Linked DNA regions of Homo sapiens: all the other regions are linked to region 2. Evidence: promoter capture Hi-C in 16 types of primary human blood cells and fetal thymus (Javierre and others, 2016). All regions are on one chromosome and are shown on one strand. The core of a region is centred on a gene start or on the middle of the fragment in contact, and the rest is flanking DNA. Distances in the headings are between cores, read along the strand shown. Region 1 holds the start of TWSG1 (twisted gastrulation BMP signaling modulator 1). Region 2 holds the start of NAPG (NSF attachment protein gamma). Region 3 holds the start of RALBP1 (ralA binding protein 1).

Evidence for each region. Contacts are between HindIII fragments. The CHiCAGO score rates a contact against its expected background, and 5 or more counts as called.
Region 1: the fragment with the promoter of TWSG1 here is called in contact with the fragment with the promoter of NAPG in region 2 in 4 of 17 cell types (non-activated CD4 T cells, fetal thymus, total CD8 T cells and 1 more); the score reaches 10.8 in non-activated CD4 T cells.
Region 3: a contact is called between a fragment that was not itself captured here and the fragment with the promoter of NAPG in region 2, in 1 of 17 cell types (activated CD4 T cells). The highest score is 6.6, in activated CD4 T cells.

Annotation. Positions count from the first base shown.
Region 1 is chr18:9,333,388-9,336,087 of GRCh38, forward strand. TWSG1 (twisted gastrulation BMP signaling modulator 1) reads left to right here and starts at 1,386. Exons shown (of 5, transcript NM_020648.6): 1 at 1,386-1,533. It overlaps TWSG1-DT (TWSG1 divergent transcript), which reads right to left and starts at 1,082. Exons shown (of 3, transcript NR_183523.1): 1 at 750-1,082. RefSeq lists a silencer at 1,087-1,876 and enhancers at 1,674-2,174, 1,937-1,986. The HindIII fragment of the contact is 11,774 bases long and covers 1-2,700 here.
Region 2 is chr18:10,524,581-10,527,280 of GRCh38, forward strand. NAPG (NSF attachment protein gamma) reads left to right here and starts at 1,447. Exons shown (of 12, transcript NM_003826.3): 1 at 1,447-1,578. The coding sequence starts at 1,523. RefSeq lists a silencer at 1,590-1,839. The HindIII fragment of the contact is 5,497 bases long and covers 1-2,700 here.
Region 3 is chr18:9,474,808-9,477,507 of GRCh38, forward strand. RALBP1 (ralA binding protein 1) reads left to right here and starts at 706. Exons shown (of 10, transcript NM_006788.4): 1 at 706-884. RefSeq lists a silencer at 637-1,046 and enhancers at 670-1,538, 1,277-1,336. The HindIII fragment of the contact is 672 bases long and covers 1,074-1,745 here.

The DNA of each region.
Region 1 (2,700 bases), core at 136-2,635, 1.2 Mb before region 2:
TCCTTCCAATCAACAAAGGTGGGTGGTAGGCATTTACGATTTACCAGCATAAGGGTTTGACACTAGGTCATCATTTCCAAGGGAAGGTGCCCCGCGGACGGTCTGGTCTAGCGGGCTCTAACTTAATCACCCTGGAATCTTCTTTAAAAAGCAAATTCCGGCCGGGCACTATGGTTCACACCTGTCATCCCAACGATTTAGGAGACCGCGGTGGGAGGATCGCTTGAGCCCCGAAATTTGAAACCAGCTTGGGCAACATAGCAAGACCTCCATATCTACAAAAAAATAAAATATTAGCCAGGCGTGGTGGTGCGCGCCCGTAGCCCCAGCTACTCGGGAGGCTGAGGCGGGAGGATTGCTTGAGCCTAGGAGGTGGAGGCTGCAGCGAGCCTGATGTTGTCACTGCCCTCCAGCCTGGTGAGAGTGAGACCTTGTCTCAAAAGAAAAAAAAAAAAAAGCAACCCAGAGTTGTGGGAAAGAACTGAGTGTCATTCTCAATGTTTTTAACCTACGTGCTAACCGCGCACCTTCTACCTAGGCTGCGCGACCTCCGCGCCCGGATCCATGGCGCCCCCTCTTCTCGACTCCCGATGCAGAGCTCCGATGCAGAGCTCAGCGCCAGCCACTCACAAGGAGCCTGGCAAGTTTTATCGAATTGGTGAACGAAGTTCGAAAGCTCTACCCTTGGAGATCCTTATTCAGTAGGTCTGAGGTAGACCTAGGAAACGCGCATTTTATATAAATCCTACCTCTGACGGCAAACGACAAGGGGTTCACGTGCCAGCTCTCCTCGGCGACGCGCTAGGCTACTCAGCGCCCCGAGCCTCGGCCTCGCATCGCTAGAACCCGGCCATGGCCGCTTCCTTACAGGGCAGCTGTGAGGAGTCCTGAGGAATTTTAGTACACGGCATATCCTCAGCGTAGTGGCTAGCACATCACAAGGCTTTAATCTTAACACTGTTGATCTTAACACTGCAACTGAGGGGGCCCGGAGAATGGGCCTGACAGGAGGGTCTGTCGGAACCTGAGGGACTGGGGATCCCGGTGCGGAGAAGCGCGAAGGGAAATCGCGTTGAGCAGCTGGGGTGGGTGCGCCTGGGGGCGTGGCCTGCGGGCCGGCGGGCGGGCGGGAGCCTGCGGTGGAGGCGTGGCACGAGGGAGGGGCGAAACCGGGTGGCGCGGAGGGGGCGTGGCGTTGGGAGGGGCGGGGGGAGTGGGCGGGGCCGAGATGGGGGCGTGCGCGCTGACAGGAGCGCCGGGGGAGTGAGAGACGCCTCCTGGCGGGAGCTGGCGGCTGTGGACCCCAGCGGGGGCGGAGGGGAAGAGGGGAGCAGGGGCGGGGAGCAAGGAGCCGGGAGGAGGGCGGCGGGCGGGCCTGTCTCTTTAAGGTGCCCGAGGCTCGCGGGCGCTGCGCTGAGGGGACGGCGGGAGGCGCGGCCTGGCCTCGCACTCAAAGCCGCCGCAGCGCGCCCCGGGCTCGGCCGACCCGGCGGGGATCTAGGGGTGGGCGACTTCGCGGGACCGTGGCGCATGGTGAGTGGGAGCGGCTGGGGGGTTGTGCAGCCTCTTGGCCTCTTGGTTGGGAAGGGGCCGGGCGCCGAGCTCGGCCCTCTAGAGGCCCGGGGCCGCGGCGAGCTTCGCGGGGGCCGGGAGAAGCCTGGGCCCGGCTGCGCGGAGGACAAAGTGGGGGTGCTGGGCGCGGGCGCACAGGCCGGACGCCGGGAGCCAGCAGCATCTCTGCGCCGCTTTGGTCCAGACCATCTCTGGGCCGGCCCGCGTCCTCCGCAGCCCGCGTCGGCCGAGCCGGGGTGGGGGTGGTTCCGGGTGCCCGGTCCCCCACACCGCTACCGGCCTCTGCCTCGCGGGGCGTCCGGCGCCTTCGGGGCCCTGGCACCGCTCTACAGAGGCTCGGCTCTGCCCTGGTCGCTGTCAGTGCCATCTCCCTTAACGAGAAACTTGGGCGTGATGTATGCGAAACAATTTTGATGCATGATGGTTTCTAACTCCTTAGGAAAAGATAAGTCCTTTAATTCTATTACCTGATTTCGACATGGTCGTAGTTACTTGAATACTTTTTCCAGTGAAATTTGGGGAGTAAGATGAATTTGTGGAACATTTCATAAGACAACCGTAAAAGATGGGAAAGGGGGGAAATCCCAGTTTTCATGGTTGTAGGATGAAAACTAGTTCCACGACAGTTAGTCTCCAAATAACCTTATTTGGCCTCCGCAAATATGTACTGGTTGCTCCAGAAATCATCCTACTTGGTATGCGGCGTTAGATACATTAGAAAATTAGTTACTAACGGTCTTTAGGGAATGCTTTGTGAGCCTCAGTAACGATCACCAGGGTTTTCTCTTTCAAAATTGACTCATACCAGGTCCAAAGCCCTTTATTCTTTTCACCCTTTTATTATTTTTCCTTTAATGTACTTTGTAACACTTAGAATAAAAGTTTAGAGTAATCATAAATGCCCCCATAAACTCACTATTTATCCCTCTTACGTCAGTAGTCATTTATTTTAATTTATTATGTTTGATAGGGAGGTGTTTTAACCTGAAGAAATGATATCTTCCCGTATTTAAAGTTTAATAACTGTATACTGTTTGGCCCCTGTCAGACTGTGTTTGTGCTAGTCTTTTTTCCTTCTTCTTTTTGAACTGTAGTATCTTCTTAATAACTTTGAAGAATGTGTGGTAC
Region 2 (2,700 bases), core at 197-2,696:
GACAACCAAATGAAGAGGGGTCTTGTGTGTGGGTACTAAATAAGAAAGTGAGGATAGAGAAAAAAATCCAAGGCCAGTTCACCTGTTGGCACTAGAAAAAATGCAAAATATTGATTGGCAAATAGATGCAGGAAGATCGATCGATTGTGTGGTGAGGCCAAAGGGAAGAACTCTTCGAATAGTTATTTCATATTCAACAATAAGTGAGAGTTGGCAGGCAAGCAGAGATTGTGTAGGAGTTTTGAGAAGGAAGGTGTGAACAGCCCTCCAAGTGAGTGGGTGAGTGATTTGACCATGGAAACATAGGAGAGTTGCTCAGCAGCACCAAAGGTCGGCTTAATGTTTATGATCATTAAAATGAGTAATGTTAGCATCCTCGTTTGTTTTTTTCCAGTCAAATTCACTTGCTCAAGAGCAGTTCCAGAGTAGGTGGAGAGCTGGGGTTTTTCCTGGCTTGGAGAAAGGAGGGAGAGGGAGCCAAGGCCGTTGAGAGTATACGCACTAAAATGATGGGACATGAATTTATGCTGGGAAAAGAAGGACGTGTAAGAGCAGAGGGATAGGGAAAGGTGAGGAATCTGGTGAAGGTTAAGTAATTACTAGCACTAGGAGGTATGAGCTGGAATGGAAAGGGGAAGTAAAGTGAGCTGTTTGAAACTGACACTACGGAGGGTACACAGTTATGAGTAAGGTCAAGGGTGTGATCCCAGGAATGTGTGGCTGCGCTAGTGTGGGAAAGATCACAGGAGGTTGGAAGCTGAGAGGCTGTATAGTCATTGCAGGAATCATCCATGTGGATATTGAAATCACCATGAATTATGAATGAAGCCAACTGTATTACTGGTTACTATTTTTACCAGACCACTGTACGCGACTTTAGATCCCTCAACTTCCCATTTAGAGCACTTATCACGGCTTGAAATATTAGAGCGATTATTTGGGTTGGGCGCGGATTATTTGACAGTAATCAGGGTTTACAAGTCTGTTTCGTTTCTTGACTGACATACAATTAATACCCAAAAGGCAGAATGGATAGAAGAATACTATTCTATCTGTCATACAGAGAAACTTCAGATGTAATAAATTATAAAGCCAATTAACCCTACAAACAGGATCCACAGCAGTTTCACATTAATGAAAAAGCAAGACTTCAAGAGGGCGGGAGTTTTTGTCTGCTGATCTTCCCGCATCTAAAATAGTGCCTGACACATATTAGGTGCTTTGCAAATATTGAATGAAAGAATACGCCCCATCAGTATCTCACCGCGCCTGCGCTAGATGCCCTAGGTGGGGCCAGCCTTGACGCGCTGCGCCTGCGCAATGTCTCTTTGCGGGGCGCACCGGCAGGCTCCCAGCCCCGCTTCGTCGCAGCGGCTTGGGCCCTCCGGCCCTCCGTAGCCGCTCGACTGTCGCGCTGCACCAGCTTCCTCCTCGGCGTTCCCACGCCTATTTGGGCGGATTCTTGGCGCCGGAGGAAGAGGCAGGGTCACCCTCTCTCCACGTCAGAGACCTGACTGTGGAGATGGCGGCTCAGAAGATAAACGAGGGGCTGGAACACCTCGCCAAAGCAGAGAAATAGTGAGTGAGAACCTTCCGGGGGCCTGTGTGTAGACGCCGGGTCCGTCTCTCACTGGCGCGGCCTTAGCACCCGGGGGGGGCGGGAGGGAGGGCTCAGGGCTGAGGGGCCTCGGCGCGCTGGTGCCCGCAGGGCTGCCGGGGCTCGGTGTCCTCTGGGTCACACTCCCGGGGTCGGGGTCAGCTCTGCGGCGCCTCGGGAAGCGCCGTGGGTCCACCCCGCCGGAAGTCCGCTCCCCAGAGCCGGTGTGGGCGGGGACTCGGCGCAGTGCTGCGGGGCGAGGGCTTCTCTACTTGGGCGCTCTGCTCCTGAAGATTGTGGTGGGGGCTGTCTGTGCATCGGAGGCTCGTTAGCAGCATCCTTGGCCTCTACCTGCTGGGTGCCGGTCGCATCTCTTCCCCATTTGTGGCAACCCAAAATGTCATCTGGGGAACAACATCGCTCTGTTGAGAACCACCGCCCTAGAAGAGCCCCCTGTGTGGAGGGGACCATAGGTTTACCCCAAAAACTCCTCGGTGAACCTTTGTCATCTGGCATTTTACTGTCCCTGTGGGCAGGGACTGTGCTTCGTTCGTCCTTTGATGTGTATGTCCTGCCACCTCTGGTACAGTACGTAGTAGGCACCCTGCAAATGTTTGTGGGACTGAACTGATAATCCTTAATTCATCCTTTTGGCAGCCTCTTCCCCCCGTTTCATTACTCCAGTGCATTTTTATCTGGCAGTTACAGTTAATAGAAAGTCAGCATTGTGGGCCGGGCGCGGTGGCTCACGTCTGCAATCCCAGCACTTTGGGAGGCCGAGGCGGGCGGATCACAAGGTCAGAAGATCCAGACCATCCTGGCTAACACGGTGAAAACCGTCTCTACTAAAAATACAAAAAATTAGCCGGGCGTGGTGGCGGGCGCCTGTAGTCCCAGCTACTCGGGAGCCTGAGGCAGGAGAATGGCCTGAACCCGGAAGGCAGAGCTTGCAGTGAGCCGAGATCGCGCCACTGCACTCCAGCCTGGGCCACAGAGCGAGACTCCGTCTCAAAAAAAAAAAAAAAAAAGAAAAGAAAAAGTCAGCATTGTGCTCTGTGGTGGGTGCTTCACATACATAATTTCATAAGCTGAGATCTTCACAA
Region 3 (2,700 bases), core at 160-2,659, 1.0 Mb before region 2:
GGGGGCTGCTCGGTAACTGCTGAGCCGGGGGCGCGCTGAAGCCCTGCAGAAGCCCACACCCGCTTCAGGAATTCCGTGGATGTTCCCGACAGAGGTTTATTCCCGCCTATCCCTACAGGCCCACGGCGCTCTTTCCTCCAATCCCACACCCAGTCGAAGGCGGGGCAGCCGCCCCACCCAGCGGCCAGCCGGGCGGCCCCCAGTCTGGTTTAACTGGTTGGAACGACTAAAGCACGCTGGCGCAAGGAAAGCTCTCAACTTCGGGAGCTGAGGCGCAGGCTGGCCAGAGCGTGGAGAGGAAAGCCCTTTCCATCCTCAAGGCCGTTGCAGGAGATGCCCGCGAGCCACCTTCGCCAGCACCACACCGGGGTAAGCCGTCCGTCCCCGAAACCCGCAAGGCCACCGACTGCGCAGGCGCCTGCAGAGCACTGGCCCTCGGCGCGTTCTCTCGCGCTCTTCTTCAGTCTCCTCAGCGAGCCTGGGGACGAAGGGGGCGCGGTGCCTCCTGGGTGTTGTAGTTTGCTTCCTTGGCGAGAGGCCTTCGGGCTGGCTGGACGCCGGGGCCTTGGGAACTACGCCTCCCAGCGCGCCCCGCGCGAGAGCCCAGGTCGCCTGCCCTTGACGGCTTCAGCCGTCTGAGCGGAGAGGAGGATCCGGGAAGCCGGCTGCGGCGGGAGGAGGGAATGCGCGTGCGCGCTGGACCGCCTCGTCCCGTTCCGTCCCAATCATTGTAAACAGGCAGAGGCTGGGCGGGGTGGGAATGGGGCGCCCGAGGCCGGCCTGGGGCGCAGCGCAGGAGGCGGCTCCGGTGGCTGCGGCGGCAGCGTGAGCGCGAGGAGGCGGAGGCTGCGGCGGGGCGGACGGTCGCGCGGCGGCAGGCACAGGTCAGTCGCAGGGAGCGGTCGCGTGCTAGGGTCGCGGCGATACCCCTGGAGTGCCCGAGGAACCCTCTCCCGCGCCGGCCTCGCGCCCGCGTCTGTCAGGCAGCGTGTGGGGCTCGGTGCTCGCAGCGCTCGGGTTTGAAGTTGGGGGTGGGGGGCGTGGCTGCCCCTGGCGTGGGTTCCTCCCCGGAAAGCTTCGCCCCAGTTTTCGCCCCCCTTGGCCGTGCGTCCCTCCCACTGGCCGACGGGCCTCCCTTCGTGGCGTCCTCGTTTGTGGTGCTCTCGGGGGCCGGGGGTGGAGAGTTAGGAGTCCCCAGGCCTCGGGGAAGCTCTTGGGGGGCGCCTGGACAGAGGCTAGGGGACCCAGCCCTCACGGTTGGTGGATCGTGCCCGGCATAGTGGCCAGGCTCCAGGGCTTACCCAGGGGACCAGGACAGGCTCCTGGTGTCGCCCACCGCTGGCACTGAGCAGTGGGCGCCTTTGGGTGCTGCGATCCTTCCTTCAGGTTTCAGTGGGAATGGACAGACAGATCTGAAGTTGAAAATTCTTTTCACAACTCATGTTCAACTATGTGTGTTGTCAGAATGCTCTTAATGAGGTCAGTGTTCTCCCTCTTTTTTTTAAAACTGATCGTTGTGAGAGTGAAACAGGTTTTACAGAATATTTAACACCTCCGTCTTCCCTGAAGTAATTCTGCTGTTTCAAGTTTTGGGATTCAGTATTACAAAGCCTTCCTCTTGAGCAAGGCCTAGTACAATTCTTCAAGGTCCCTAGCATGTTAATTCGAGGTGTTTTGAACGTGCATATACAGGAAGTGCAGCCGTTTGGCCGTTGAGTTAGTGCTCCATCCAGCCTTGTTAGAAAAGCTTTCGCTGAATTTTTAATTTAGTGGAGTGGTCATGTTCTAATGCTGCAGTACTTTGGGGAGTATTCCATTATACTTGGCAGTTATTAACGAAATACTGAACTTGTGATAAGGTTTTGTTTTGGTGCTCAGCATTTCTAAATGAATAAGTGGGACTGTGAATAAGAAAGATCACCTCACTTTCTGTTTTTAGAGTTATTGTGGTCATTTGATAACTCCTTTCTGTCTTTGTGAAAATAATTACTGTAAGCTGGAGTGGCGGTAGTAGGGGTAGGAAGGAGGTCAGTAGAGTGGTTTCCACCTCTCATTCAAAGTATCTGGTAGATCCAAGTGGGGTAGGTTAGTTAACAGTAGCTTTTTTTTTTTTTTTTTAGTTTTTTATTTTTTGAGACAGAGTTTCGCTCTTGTTGCCCAGGTTGGAGTGCAATGGCATGATCTCAGCTCACCACAGCCTCTGCCTCCTGGGTTCAAACGATTCTGCTGCCTCAGCCTCCTGAGGGGATTACAGGCATGCGCCATCACGCCCGGCTAATTTTATATTTTTAGTAGAGACATTTTCTCCATGTTGGTCAGGCTGGTCTTGAACTCCCGACCTCAGGTGATCTGCCCGCCTAGGCCTCCCAAAGCGCTGGGATTACAGGCGTGTGCCACCGCGCCCTGCCAACAGTAGTAGCTTTTGAGAAGTGACTCTTTAAACAAGGTATCTCGAAACAATGTAATACAACTTAGTTTGCTTTCTCTTCAGGATATTGTTTCTAATTATGGATCTTATCCAGACTATTTCTCCCCTAATTTAGAATAGGAAAGTGGTATCAGAAAGTGCATAATAACTTTAATTTGTACAGTTATATTTGCATAGTTGTTTGCTTGGCAAGAAGAGATCGGGCCCAGCATGTAACCCAAAAGAATATTGTTTCTGTTTTGAAAGATCCCTGATAGAAACTTATGTTAGTT